2 separate regions of the Homo sapiens genome follow, and region 2 is linked to region 1. Evidence: promoter capture Hi-C in 16 types of primary human blood cells and fetal thymus (Javierre and others, 2016). All regions are on one chromosome and are shown on one strand. Each heading gives the region's core, a stretch centred on a gene start or on the middle of the fragment in contact. The rest is flanking DNA. Distances are from core to core; before and after follow the strand shown. Region 1 holds the start of ATP6V1H (ATPase H+ transporting V1 subunit H). Region 2 holds the start of RPS20 (ribosomal protein S20).

Region 1 (7,258 bases), core at 2,604-5,103:
TGAACAGAGAAAACATCAGCAAGTCTCCCCTCCTCCTGTCCTTCAGTCAGTGGCCCCACAATAACCCAGTTCCTTAAAGTAGGAATCCAGAAGTCATCCAAGACTTCTCTTTCACCCCCACACACCAAATCAATCACTAAGACTCTCTCAATCTAACCAATTCTATCTATTCCAATACCTTGGTTACTGCTATAGCTTCTCTCTACCTCTAGACTTATCACCTACAAACTCACCCTTCATGCTGCTAGTAGAACAATTCAATCAAGAGGCAGATATGGTCTTCTAACTCCCGGCTACAAGATTCATTGGTTTCCAACACCTACAGCTCCTTGGAAAATGGTGAATGGTCTCAAAAAGAGGGCTCTGGGACACACACTCCCACCTCCATTCTATCATTTTCATCTGTTTTACATGCTAACTTCATATCAATCATGGGCTTCACAGCTTAAAAATCAGCTTGAAAAGCACTGACTGATAGGATCAAGTCCAAACTCCTTCCAACCACACACCCACACACAGCATCTTCACGATCGGCCCCTGGCTGCCTCTCTAGCCTCAGCTCTCTGCATTGCCTGCCTCCAAAACATGTATGACTCCCACCCAGTGTGCTGTTTTTGCTTCCCTGCCTTTGCTCACATTATCTGTTCTATTCCCAAGGCTGCTCCTACTTGCCACATGGCTAAATACCCATCATCCTCAAAAACTCAGTTCAGGGACCAGCCCCTTCAGGAAAATTTCCAAGGGGTAGAATTACTTGTCTTTTTTATGTGCACCTGCCAGACCCTGTGCATCTTTCTATTGCCACAGTTAACATACTGAATTAGAGCCGGGCACGGTGGCTCACGCCTGTAATCCCAGCACTTTGGGAGGCCAAGAGGGGCAGATCACGAGGTCAGGAGTTCGAGACCAGCCTGGCCAACATGTTGAAACCCTGTCTCTACTAAAAATACAAAAAAATTAGGCGGGCAAGGTGTCAGGTGCCTGTAATCCCAGCTACTCGGGAGGCTGAGGAAGGAGAACTGCTTGAACCCGGGAGGCGGAGGATGCAGTGAGCCAAGACTGCCCCACTGTACTCCAGCCTGGGCAACAGAGTGAGACTCTGTCTCAAAAAAAAAAAAAAATAGTGAATTAAAATGATCTATTAATACATCTGACTTCCCTACTAGAGTTTTAGTTCCTTCAGGGACAGTACTCTGTATGGAATTTTTGTAGCCTCAAAGCCTGGAAAAATGCCTCAAACTTGGCAGGTAATCAATAAATGTTTGATGAGTGATTAAATTAACAGAAATTAAAGGATCATTTTTGTACATTATAGATCCCTCCTACAACAACACAAACTATTAATACTAATATAAAATTAACACTAATATAAAACTAGATTCCTCAATTTGTTTTTCAAAATGCATATGCAAATCTGAACTGAATTCCTTGGTAACTCAGTTATAAATATACCAAAATAAATATGAAGTCAATAAAATATGGTCAAGAATACATGAATGCTCACTTTATAGATAAATACAAAATACTGAAACATCAGCACATTAAATATTAATACATACAAGAAAGAAGGGGGAACTAAAATGTATTGTATTCAACATACTAATGCTTGTATTCTACTGTGCTAATAAATACATTATTTCAGCAACAAGCCTGTGGGGTATGTCTCCCCATTTCACATTTTACTTTATTGAGCCTCAGAGAAGTTAAGTGATTTGCTTAAGATCACCAAACTAATAGCAAGAACCAAAACTCAAATCCAAGTCTCTCAACTCAAATATCTGTGCTTCTTATTAGTTGTATGCACCACTCTAAAAAGGCCACCTGCCCCCATGCTGATTGCCAGGGCATATCAGACCAGTCTAGCAGGTTTTGCCCCTCATCCCCTTCCTCCCTCCGTTAGCCCAAGGACATTCCTCCTATGTTTCCCACTTATTCCAAAAGTACTTCCCCAGGCAGCCAGAGAAGGTCAAAAGCACCATAAGCCGCTCTGCTTCCCCACTAGGGCGCCAAGCTGTTTCCACCCCACTACACTTAACTCCCTAAGACAGCTAATTATTCTGAAGAGGAAGTGTTTCTTCCACATTTTTCAGTATTTTCCCTGTATTTCTCTCATAGAAGCATGACCATGAAAAAGTCTGATGCAAAAGCATATGACTGTCCATGATTCACAGCAAATTGGTACTTACTGAAGATAGGATTGCCAGTTGACTTTGTTTGCACGAACTTCTGCAGCCTTGGCAGCAATAATATTGGTGGGGACAGCAGCATCCACAGCACCTCGGATATCCATTTTGGTCATCTAAACTTCGTAATCTTGAATGTCTTTCAACAAATCTTCAATTTTGATGCAAGGTAAAAACAGAATACGAGGTGTTTCTTTTTTTTACAACTATTAATATTATGATTATGAATATCGTGATCACTTTAATCTCCCCAGGCATTCAACTCAAATATTAAATGTCCTAAGTCTGAAAGTATCATTATATTTCAAATATTGTCCACTGCTCCATAAAAGAGTTCTTTAGGCTTTTGCTTTTCTAGAAAAATTTTTTTCATTATTGGCACTAACACTGCAGTAAGATTTTTAAAGCAATCACCTAATATACTGAAATCAGAAATCATGATTAAATAGAATAGGTATAAATATGGGAAAAATTGTAAATTTATACAATTGTGGTTAACTTTTCTCATAGAGAAACAATAAGAATATGAATAGTACGGATAAGGCTAGTTTTATAAACATTTACTAAGCATCATTTTGAAGTGGCACATTAAAAATTCTAAGTCCTTTCGAAAATTACTCAAATTAAAATACACAAAGTGGGAACATAATTTCTTAGAAGACAGTGCTTTCCTTTTCAAACAAAATTCATAGTATTTGCAAAATCAAAATTCGGAGAGAAAGTTTTAGAACAAATACATATTACAATTTAGGTAAGCCAACAATGGCGGTCTGGCTGGACGACAAGAACCTACAATAATGAAATTCTATGTAATTCTCACTCCTAAACTTCCAGATACAAACGACTGATTTTAACACAAAGCAAAATACAGGTTGCCACTTGCAAAACATAAATTCACGGCCATGGCCACAAAGAAGTTAAAATCCTACCCAAAATTATATTCCGGGTTTCCAACGATCTTAATCAATTTGGAACTTAATCTCTGTATCTGAAGATTTGCTGTATAAACAACCCTGGGCAGCGCGAACGACAGGGCCCAGGAAAAAACAGGCTTCAACTGGGCCAGGCTGGAACTCTGCAGCCAAGGAGGCTCAGCCTCAGCGGCCCGTCCTGGCGTAGCTCAAGGTGTCTCTAGACAATTACCTAAGTCCCTGAACTACTCGCACCCCCAGCGATCCAGGGCCGTGGCCCAGTCCTGGAGAAGGTATACTTTTTACCCCTCCCCCTCCACTCTCCTGCCCGCCCCTGACGTTTCTTCCCCCTGCGAGAAAGGCTCCAGAATTTCGCTTAATAAACCTGGTTGAGGCCTGGAAGAAAAGCAATCTGGCAACCGGGGGCCGAAGAACAGGAGAGGACCAAGCGGCGAGACACCAGCACGCACCAGGCAAGCTGGAGAAACTGCAAGAGTCGCCTGACCTGGTCTGCAGCCTGAGACCAAACAACGCGAGGGCGGCCTTACCTCGCGAATCCTCGGGACCCCACAACGCACCCAAAGCCGGCAGGGAGGGTGGTCCGGGGCGCCGGGGACACAGCCGGGCTGGGGCGCCGCGTCAGAGCCAAGTAGGCGTCTCCTGTCAGGTCCAGAGGTCTGAGCAGTGGAGGGAGACTCCGGGAGCCGAAAGTGAAGCGGGTCCCGCACCAAGGAGACGTTGAGGGCCGCACAGGTAGAAGGAAGCCAGGGCGGCCGCAGTAGAATGACAGAGGCGCCGGTCACGTGATCGGAGGCACGTGACTGCTGCGGAAGGCGGAAGCCGGGAGACTCCAAAGCAGCAAGAGGAGGGGCGGGCGCTGCGGCGGGGCTTGTTCGGTGCGGACAACTGGATTCCCGAGTCCGTAACTTGGGCCCCGGAGCGACGCAAGGGTCGGGCCCCAGCCAGCCAGGGCAGGTGGGAGGCGGCGAGCGTGGCGGGCACGCTAAGACCCGCCGCCCCCAGACCTAGTGCCTCGCCTAGGGGAGGCCGAGGACCTCCGCCCGGAAGCAGCTAGCAGAGGCCAAAACGCTCTTATTGTAACCGTCATTCTTTTGAAAAGTTTGATTTCGCGCTTTCAAATTAATTTCCATTTGGATTTAACAGCTCCATGAAGCAGGCGTTCTTATTCTGATTTTAAATAGAAAACTCGGGCTGAGAAGTGGGTCTGAAAAGCTCTCTTAACCTAGGGTTGCACATTTAGCAAATAATAAATTCCATTGCAGTATTTACTTTTATACTAAAAAGTTATTCGTTGTTTATCTAAAATTCACATTTACAGGACGTCTGGTATTTTATCCAACAGTCCCATCTGGAGCCCAAATTTTCCCCTAGTCCAGGCCTCAGCAACTGTCTTTGCCTTAAAGTAAGAATGTACTGCCCTGGAGGTGAAGTATATATGATAGCATGTTTTCCTTAAAAAGCAATGAAAGGGGCCGGGCGCGGTGGCTCACTCCTGTAATCCCAGCACTTTGGGAGGCCGAGGCCAGTGGATCACCTGAGGTCTGGAGTTCGAGACCAGCTGACCAACATGGTGAAACCCCATCTCTACTAAAAATACAAAAAATTAGCTGGGTGTGGTGGCGCATGCCTGTAATCCCAGCTGCTTGGGAGGCTGAGGTAGGAAAATCACTTGAACCCAGGAGGCAGAGGTTGCAGTGAGCCAAGACCGCACCATTGTACTCCAGCCTGGGCAGAAAAAGCAAAACTCCGTCTCAAAAAGAAAAAAAAAAAATTCTTTGAAAGGGATTTATAACCAACCCATTTTTACTCGTAAAATTAAAGTCAGAATAATCAAAATCATGCATTGATTATGAATAAAGATATATAATAACAGTGTCAAAGATTGTACTAGGTCACTCATTCTGTCTTAGCCAGAAGTGAAAGTCTGTTGTTTTGAAAGCAAATCTAAGGGGAAAAACTTTCATAAAAGAGAAAAAGAAACCGATCGTGTACTAAGAAACTCCCAAAAGCTGAAACAGCATGTTTTCTGTGTAACTGAGCAAAGCTGGCAGTGAGGCCTGATCTTCGCATTTCCTTTCTGTATCACCTAAGCCACAGACTGGCGTGATACAGCGAGTCTCATCAGATTTCGGGAGGCTCTCCTCTTTTCCTAGAGGCACAAAGTTATGGAACAAAATCAGGAACAGTGCAGTGAGCAGAGGGGACTGCTTCACAGGCACCTGGGCTGGCGTTCTCCGAGCATCACAACATTACCAGACAATTTGCCTGGAGTAGGGAGAAGAGAAGAGGCAGGTACTCCCGGCATTATCTCTCTTAACATTATTTCTGTAACACTTCTATCGGAGATTTTTCTTGGTCCATTCAGGCTCCTGTAACAGTGCTGTAGACTGGGTGGCTTATAAACAACAGAAAGTCATTTTCTCACAGTTCTGGAGGTTGAAAGTTCAGAATTGGGGTGCTATCATGGTGAGGTTCTGGGAAGGATTGTCCCAGGTTGCAAACTGCTGTCTTCTCATTGTAGCTTCACATGGTGGAGAGGTGAGAGAGCTCTCTGGGGTCTCTTTCATAAGGACATTAATTTCATTCATGAGAGCTCCACCCTCATGACCTGATCATTTCCCAAAGGTCCCACCTCCTAATATCATCACCTTGGGAGTTAGGATTTCAACACAGGAATTTTGGGGAGACACAGACCATAGCGGTGATCTCAGTTACCTAATTATATAACATACCTGGGGTCCCCATACCCTGGGCCACAGACTGGTGTGGTCCATGGCCTGTTAGGAACCCGGCTGCACAGCAGGAGGTGAGCGGCGGGCAAGCCCCATTACCGCCTAAACTCTGCCTCCTGTCAGATCAGCAGCGGTAGTAGATTTTCACAGAAGCATGAACCCTATCGTGAACTGCACATTGCAAGGGATCTAGGTTGCACACTCTGTATGAGAATCTAATGCCTGATGAGCTGAGGTGGAACAGTGTCATCCTGAAACCAGCCCCATCACCTCCCACCCTGTCTGTGGAAGAATTGTCTTCCTCGAAACTGGCCCCTGGTACCAAAAGGGTTGGGGACTGCTGTATTATGACATAAGAAAGATAACCTTTGAGCTACTTTGTAATTTCTTTGAAATTGAGCTTCAGATTTGTTATTTAGAAATGACATAAGGGGAAGTTAGATGAATCTATATGGACAGGAGAAAATAATATTAATAATGTATTTATTAAGTTAATGTTCAATTCTTCACTAGAATAGGATTACATGTTTGGAGATGTAAACTAGGAATCTACCACTTAGGAATCATCAGAAGGTAGAAAATATATGACGTTTCAAAGGAATTTCTTCTGTCTGAAATATATGGAATGCTATAAACACCATCATTTCCAATCTTTTCTTTCCAAGTATGAATTGAACTTATATTTGCCCACAGAAGTAGAAGAGTTCTAGTCAAAGAAAATCCTATTCTAAAATATTTGTCATGAAAACTTACCACCCCCAAGTGAAGATTATGCTGCCAGCCTACCTTCAGTTACACAAGGACTTTGAGAAGTTTTTATAGCTGACTGAATAAATTATTAGTTTAATGGAAGAATGGTTTTTCCATTCTTTCACACAGTCTCCTTGGGAACAATAGGCATTTGCAAGAAGCTGGCCTAGTTTGGCCTAATGGTAACACTGAGTAGTGACGTCATGACCCCTTCACAAAGTGCTCTAACCAACTGTCCTAACAACTTCTGATTGCTTTGGTATTGCCAAAGCACATCTATCATCAATCATGCTGGTTTTCACTTACACTCCATACCAGTGTCCTGAATACTCATGGCAACCAAGCTTCAGATTTTTCAGGTAAGTTAATTTCATTGCATTGCACCATCGGCCCCATAAGGACAACCTCCACAATTTGACATTTTAAAAATATGGTCCATGTGGTAGACAGCTTCTGAAATGGCTCTTAATGATCACCACCTCCCAATGACTCATATCCTTGTGAAATCCTCTCTTCTTGAGTGTGGGCTAGATCTACTGATGTTCCTATAAGGACCAGAAAATGGCAAAAGTAAAGGGATGTCACTTCTGAGATCAGGTTACAATGCAAGCTGCCTTGCTTGCATTATCCCAGGTTCTTCTCACTTGCTCACTCTGATGAA
Region 2 (7,258 bases), core at 1,962-4,461, 2.2 Mb after region 1:
TGTGCTCTAAAGACTGCTATGCTGCACTAAAAGTTCATAGGTATTTGTCTGGGGGCCACGTATTGATAGGTATTCCATTTTAAAATGGTCTTATTAACTGATAGCTAAACAGCTCCCAAAGATCAACTGTTTGGTTTAAATTTAGCAATGTGGCATAATTCATTCCAGACTCAGTTCCATTCAAATCCTTGATGTTAACTGGGTTTGTCTTGAGATCTGAAGTAGACTCAGAAGGAATTGGATGTTGGGTAACAGCAGTAGGGGAGGGGCAAGGGGTGACTCCAGTTTGAACTGTGAGACTTCAGTAGACAATGGATTCAGACTAGGAACACAGGACAGAGCTTCTGGGAGGGAAGATTTCATTTTAGACACATTAGCTTTTCAGCTGTGGGTTGCAGGTGCCTAGCATGCAGTTGGTTGTATACAGAAATCTCAACTGAAGGTCAATTTGAAAAGATAGCAGAGTTCAGCGTGAAAGCCTAGGCCCAAATCCAAAAAGAAAAAACTTGAATTACCCAACTTTGATCCTATTAAAAATTTCAAAAATTTTCTGAAGGCAATCTTAACAATTTGTAGATGTTCCATTTTTCCACAATAAATCTATAGAAACTTTCCCCAATAAGTTTAGCAAACCTGTAAGGGTATCTATCTGATTTTAAATTCTAGGCTGGGTACAGTGGCTCACTCCTGTAACACCAGCAGTTTAGTAGGCTAACACAGGCTGATGGTTTGAGTCTTCAGAGTTCCAGACCAGCCTGGGCAACATGGCAAAACCTCACCTCTACAAAAAACAATTAGCTGGGCATGGTAGCCACATGCTTGTTAAGTCCCAGCTACTAGGCAGTTTGAGGTGGATTGCATGAGCCCAGGTCAAGGCTGCAGTGATCACACCACTGCACTCCAGCCTGGACTGCAGAGACCCTGTCTAAAACACTGAAAATATAAGTATTTTTAAAAAATGTAAAAGTGAAAATGGGCCAGGCATGGTGGCTCATGCCTGTAATCCCAGCACTTTGGGAGGCTGAGGCAGGTGGATCACCTGAGGTCAGGAGTTTGAGACCAGCCTGAACAACAGGACAAAACCCCATCTCTACTATAAAATAAAAAATTAACCAGGCTTGGTCGCAGGCACTTGTAATCCCAACTACTTGGGAGGCTGAGGCAGGAGAATTGCTTGAACCTGGGAGGCAGAGGTTGCAGTGAGCCAAGAACACACCACTGCACTCCAGCCTGGGCCACAGAGCAAAACGCCGTCCCCCCCCCCAAAAAAAAAAAGTGAAAATTTTATATTTAAAATATAAAACACTGAAAATATAAGTATTTTTAAACTAAGTTTTAGTTCCTAAAACCCTAAAACTTAGTTTTAGTCCTGCCTCTGCCACTTAATCCTTTTTTAAGGACGTTAAACTTGGTTAATTTAAAAATATTAGTTACTAGCTTTTTAACACGTGCCTACTAGCGCACTAGGTTCTCAACCATGGGTGTGCATTACAAACGCCCCAGAAACCTTAACACCCCATACCAATCAGAATTTATCTAGAGTATGCCAAAGTTATAAACTGCCAGTGTCCAATAAAACCAGTCAGGTCTCACATATTATGTAGTTAACGGAATCCAGTTTTCAAATGACTCAAACGACAACGAAAACAGGATAGACCACTCTAAGATACCCATATATTCCACCTGAAAAGTGGAAGTCTCATAGTACACCTTTATATTCCTAAAATCTGCCAGTATTCTGAATAAAAACCAACAGAAGTTAACAACTGGTCATCAATTTATTAAAATAGTTGACTTAAGCATCTGCAATGGTGACTTCCACCTCAACTCCTGGCTCAATACTGATGGAAGTAATCTGCTTAACAATCTCAGAAGGACTGTGCAAGTCAATGAGTCGCTTGTGAATTCTCATCTGGAAACGATCCCACGTCTTAGAACCTTCACCACAAGGAGTTTTTCTTGTAGTGATTCTCAAAGTCTGTAACAAAAGACAAAGGAAACCAAGTGTTTATCGTTTTATACTTATCCCTAGAACATCTGGAAAATCATTACTTCTAATCATTTCATTAGTTTCCCTTTGGTATGATTCCAATTTACACTAATAGATTTTCAGGTACCATGGGTTGAAAATGCCAGGTCTGTTTTCACTGTGCTAGGACACCACCCTTAGAGCTTGCGCCTGTTAAGCACCAAAGCACACCAAGAACACAGCAACAATAATTCAACAATCATATCTAAACATTAGCTACTTACTAGGAACCGCAATCTACCACCGATTTCTATGTGCGTTTGTAGACAGCATCAGTGTTAACAATTTTGGCAGCCGAACTCCTTAAAGAACCTGAATTTATGCAACATCCGGAAGCAACTCCTACTTCCTGCCCCTCCGATTTACTTTACCTTGGTAGGCATTCGAACTGGTCCTTTCACTTTGAGATTCTTTTCTTTTGCGCCTCTTATCAAGTCAGCACACACTACAGGAAATAAAAGACCTCTCAGTATAATCGAAACAATTAAAATCGGCTTAAGGCCTTCACTTCTGCTGGCTCAGAATAGCGTATAAAATTATCACCGTTACTCAACACAATAGGTACCTCCTCATCGCCAGCTGTATGACAGTAAAAGCAATTTTAAGCCACGCTTTACTTTTTTAAGTAACTTGTCACTTTAGTTCTTGCAGTCCACCTTCTACACTAACATTAACGAGTAAAGCTCGTCGCTTTTCGCCCAATTCCCCCTCCCCCCCGCATAACGAATGCACTGACCCTTTTCCAAGGATTTTACGTTGCGGCTTGTTAGGGTGATTCGAATTCGGTGAATTGCCACCTCCGGCTCCACGGGTGTTTTTCCGGTATCCTTAAAAGCCTATTATTAGATACATGAAAAAGAACAATAAGCCAAAAATGGTCTGCCACTTCTGGAGAAAGGCAGCTTCCGGAAGCTTCCCGCGTTTCCCCACCATTTCAGGAGCGCCTTTCCGCCCCTACACGCCCCGGCATCTGCCCTCAGGAGCACGAACTCGAAACCGGGGTCCCCCCGGCGCCCGAGCCCTGCGTTGCGCCGCCCGCCGCCGACTGCCGCCTCACCATGGCTGTTGCGCGCGGGCTTCCTGACCGACTTGTTCCTCGGCGAGAGCGAACAGCGGTGAGTCAGGAGCAGGAGCGTGCGGACCAAAAATCCTCAGCCCTTACGACCGCGTCTTCCTCAAAAAGAAAGGGGTGGGACTTGAGCAACGCTTATATAGCACGCTTGCATCCGGGTCCCACACGCCCCGGAACAGGAAATATCCCGGGCCCTAGAGGCGGTCGCACAAGGGCGAGCTGGAGCACTAGTGGAGTTGGCGGGAAAGGCACGGCTGCGGGCGCCCCCTGTCCGCACGGAGGAGCCGAAGTCCCGCAGGGTGGGGTCCCCGCCTGCGCCGAGAGGGCCACCTGGTCGAGAGAACAGGCGACACGGAAACCTGAGAAACTCCTCTGTCTGGTGCACCTAACCCTCTTCCTCATAAAGTGCACACGAACTCTGGTTTTTCCGTTGCAAATTTTGCTTTCTACATAGACCATACCATTCGTTGCTCTCTGAGGATGAGGTAACTTCTCTGAGCTTAGCTGACATGAGCATTGGCAGAAATGCTTCTCGTAATCTGGATAACTTACGTTAGAATTAGTAAGCAGTTATTTTTCATAGCCTGAAACGTCCTGTTGTGATATTTCAGCTCCTGGCTTCCCAGTCCAGCAGAAGTATCTACATCTATTTCTGGAAAGGACCTGAACTTGGCTTCTCGTCCTTCTGGAAAGTGAGGCGAAAATGCCAGGCTGCGCAGCTATCCTGAGGCCCGGCCTGGAACCTGGCTAGCCACCCAGTCCTGATACCTCATCTCCTTTCTGTTGGATAAAGTCATTGGATAAGATCCCCCAGGGTCTTCTTAATACTGAACATCTGTTCATAATCACATAAGTGACCAAGTATAGTGGAAAACCCGAATGGTCAACTGAGCTGAGCAGTGGGAGAGAGCGCAGGGTGAGCTCACCTACACCTGAGCAAGAAGCCGGGGCTAAATACGTGGAAATCACTGAGATGGATTTTGATACAGGGCAGAAAGAAGAGTAAAATCATCTCATATTACTTTCCACCTGAAGCTCTGAGCCGAAAGAGTTATTTGCTCAAACACTCTGAAATGGGGAGGGACAGAGCTCTGACCCCTCCGTCCAGGCCTGTTTGTTGTTTTTTTTTTTTGTTTGTTTTGTTTTTTTTTTTTTGTGAGACGGAGTTTCATTCTTGTTGCCCAGGCTGGAGTGCCATGGCGCGATCTCGGCTCACCGCAAACTCCGCCTCCTGGGTTCAAGCGATTCTCCTGCCTCAGCCTCCGGAGTAGCTGGGATTACAGGCATGCGCCACCATGCCCGGCTAATTTTTTTTTTTTTTTTTTTTTTTTTAGTAGAGACGGGGTTTCTCCATGTTGATCATGCTGGTCTCAAACTCCAGATCTCAGGCCCGCCTCGGCCTCCCAAAGTGCTGGGATTACAGGCGTGAGCCACCGCGCTCGCCCCGTCAGGACTCTTTCTTGAGGTTTTGTCTTCTGTTCCTTGGTAGGAAATTATGTTTGAAACTTTAATCAAATAATAGCATTGTCTTATTTGGTGATAATTGGAACATAACTAATAACTGGGTTTCTTTGGCTCACGATACGTATGAGGTTTTTTGCTGCCATTTTAACAATTATTTTAAATTTTCAAATTTGGATGTTTTCCAGTTCAGTTTTTTGGGTTTTTTGTTTGTTTGTTTTTTGAGATGGAGTCTCGCTCTGTCGCCGAGGCTGGATGCAGTGGCACGATTTTGGCTCCCCGCAACCTCCACCTCCTGGGTTCAAGCAATTCTCCTGCCTCAGCCTCCCGAGTAGCTGGGACCACAGGCACGTGGCACCACTCTCAGCTAATTTTTTGTGTTTTTACTAGAGACGGTGTTTCACCGTGTTAGCCAGGATGGTCTCAATCTCCTGAACTCGCGATCTGCCTGCCTTGGCCTCCCAAAGTGCTGGGATTACAGGTGTGAGCCACCTATCCCGGCCCCAGTTCAGTTATTTTTAAATGTAATCCATTGTCTGTAAATACTCTCTTAGTAGAATTTTCAGCAGAAATTCTGAAAACCTGCATTCTTATTGTGCTAGCTGTAACCTGAGACTTCATAACTTAGAGGTTTAACTTATTGGTATGGCTGTGTGCGACAAATAGACAAAAGCACAATTGCCCTGCTCCCTGGGGTGTGATCAGCCACCGCTGTAGTACTGCCTGGAGGTGACTGTGCATATTTTAAGTGAACATATACAGCGGCATTCATGTTTTACTAATGCTCAAAGATGACTGGAAATTCAATGAAGGAATTTCATTGAGAAGTACAATTGTAATTTTGTACAAGTGTGATTTTTTTTTTATAACAAATCTGGTACATCTTTTTCTTAGGCTTACCTCATCCTTTAAGTATTTGAGGAACTGGTGAACAAGTTAACTACTTTGATAGTAAACGAGGAAATTTCTTTATAGAGAAAAGCAAAATGTGGCCCAGCAGGTATGTGAAAAATGGCTGATGTGACTAGAACTAAGGAAACAAATGGTTAAGATAATATTAGACAAAAGTAATGGAAATTTTTTTTTTTTGGAAAACAGTATGGAGGGTCCTCAAAAAATTAAAAATGGAACTTCCATGTGAACCAGCCATCCCACTTCTGGGTATATACCCAAAGAAAATGAAATTGGTATCTAGAAGAGATACCTGCACTCCCATGTTTATTGCAGCATTATTTACAGTAGCTAAGGTCAGGAAATGACCTAGGTGTCCAGCAACAGATGAATGGATCTTTTTTTTCTTTGGAAACAGAGTCTTACTCTGTTGCTCAGGCTGGAGCGCAGTGGTGCGATCTCGGCACACTGCAACCTCCACCTCCTGGGTTCAAGCAATCCTCCTGCCTCAGCCTCCCAAGTAGCTGGAAGTTCAGGCAGGCACCACCATGCCCGGCTAATTTTTGTATTTTCGGTAGAGACGAGGTTTCACCATGTTGGCCAGGCTGGTCTTGAACTCCTGACCTCAGGTTATCTGCCCACCTCAGCCTTCCAAAGTGCTAGGATTACAGGTGTGAGCCACCGTGCCCAGCCTGAATGGATCAATATTATTCAGCCTTAAAAAAGAAGGAAATTCTGGCCGGGAATGGTGGCTCACACCTGTAATCCTAGCCTTTGGGAGGCTGAGGCGGGTAGGTCACCTGGAGTCAGAAGCTCGAGATCGGCCTGGCCAACATGGTGAAACCCTGTCTCTACTAAAGATAAATATACTGTGTGAGTTCACTTATATGTGGAGTCAAAAAAAGTCAAATTTGTAGAAGCAGACAGTAGACTACTAGAGTCAGGAGGTGGGATCTAGTGAGGTTTGGGAATTTTAAAGTTTATTAGTTTTAGTTTCAAACACTTTGCCGTATTTTTCTCTTGAAAACTAGCAGCTTCTGTGGCCCCCAATTTCTCTTTGAAATGTTATGTTTGGGCCAGACGCGGTGGCTCACACCTGTAATCCCAGTACTTTGGGAGGTCGAGGTGGGTGGATCACCTGACATCGGAGTTCGAGACCAGCCTGACCAACGTGCTGAAAACCTGTCTCTACTAAAATACAAAAATTAGCCGGGTGTGGTGGCGGGCTCCTGTAATCTAAGCTACTCGGGAGGCTGAGGCAGGAGAATCGCTTGAACCCAGGAGGCAGAGGTTGCAGTGAGCCGAGATCGTGCCATTGCACTCCAGACTGGGCAACAAGAGCGAAACTCCATCTCAAAAAAAAAAAAAAAGTTATGTTTGAATACTAGATGTGAGATATCCATTGGAGAAAAAAGTAACAACAATAAGCCAAAAATAAGAAGAAAATACATAATTCCATCATTCAATGTATGTTTCTTTTCTTTTCTTTTTTTTTTGAGGAGTCAGTCTTGCTCTGTTGCCCAGGCTGGAGTGCAGTGGTATGATCGCAGCTCATTGCAACCTCTGCCTCCCAGGTTCAAGTGATTCTCCTGCCTCAGCCTCCCGAGTAGCTGGGATTACAGGTACCCACCACCACGTCCGGCTAACTTTTGTATTTCAGGTGAGACAGTGTTTTGCCATGTTGGCTAGGCTGGTCTCGAACTCCTGACCTCAGGTGATCCACTGGCCTTGGCCTCTCAAAGTGCTGGGATTACAGGCATGAGCCACCACGCCAGGCCAACATGTCTTTTAATGACGGTGTTATC

Evidence for each region. Contacts are between HindIII fragments. The CHiCAGO score rates a contact against its expected background, and 5 or more counts as called.
Region 2: the fragment with the promoter of RPS20 here is called in contact with the fragment with the promoter of ATP6V1H in region 1 in 6 of 17 cell types (naive CD8 T cells, non-activated CD4 T cells, naive CD4 T cells and 3 more); the score reaches 22.4 in naive CD8 T cells.

The regions. Positions count from the first base shown.
Region 1 is chr8:53,839,392-53,846,649 of GRCh38, forward strand. ATP6V1H (ATPase H+ transporting V1 subunit H) reads right to left here and starts at 3,854. Exons shown (of 14, transcript NM_015941.4): 1 at 3,643-3,854; 2 at 2,187-2,334. The coding sequence starts at 2,299. RefSeq lists enhancers at 3,803-3,942, 5,240-5,289 and a silencer at 4,013-4,162. The HindIII fragment of the contact is 7,596 bases long and covers 1-6,939 here.
Region 2 is chr8:56,071,295-56,078,552 of GRCh38, forward strand. RPS20 (ribosomal protein S20) reads right to left here and starts at 3,212. Exons shown (of 4, transcript NM_001023.4): 1 at 3,087-3,212; 2 at 2,766-2,865; 3 at 2,401-2,474; 4 at 1,760-1,978. The coding sequence starts at 3,089. The coding sequence ends at 1,796. SNORD54 (small nucleolar RNA, C/D box 54) reads right to left here and starts at 2,607; the gene lies at 2,545-2,607. It overlaps CERNA3 (competing endogenous lncRNA 3 for miR-645), which reads left to right and starts at 3,298. Exons shown (of 2, transcript NR_149110.1): 1 at 3,298-3,586; 2 at 3,713-3,980. The HindIII fragment of the contact is 15,741 bases long and covers 2,940-7,258 here.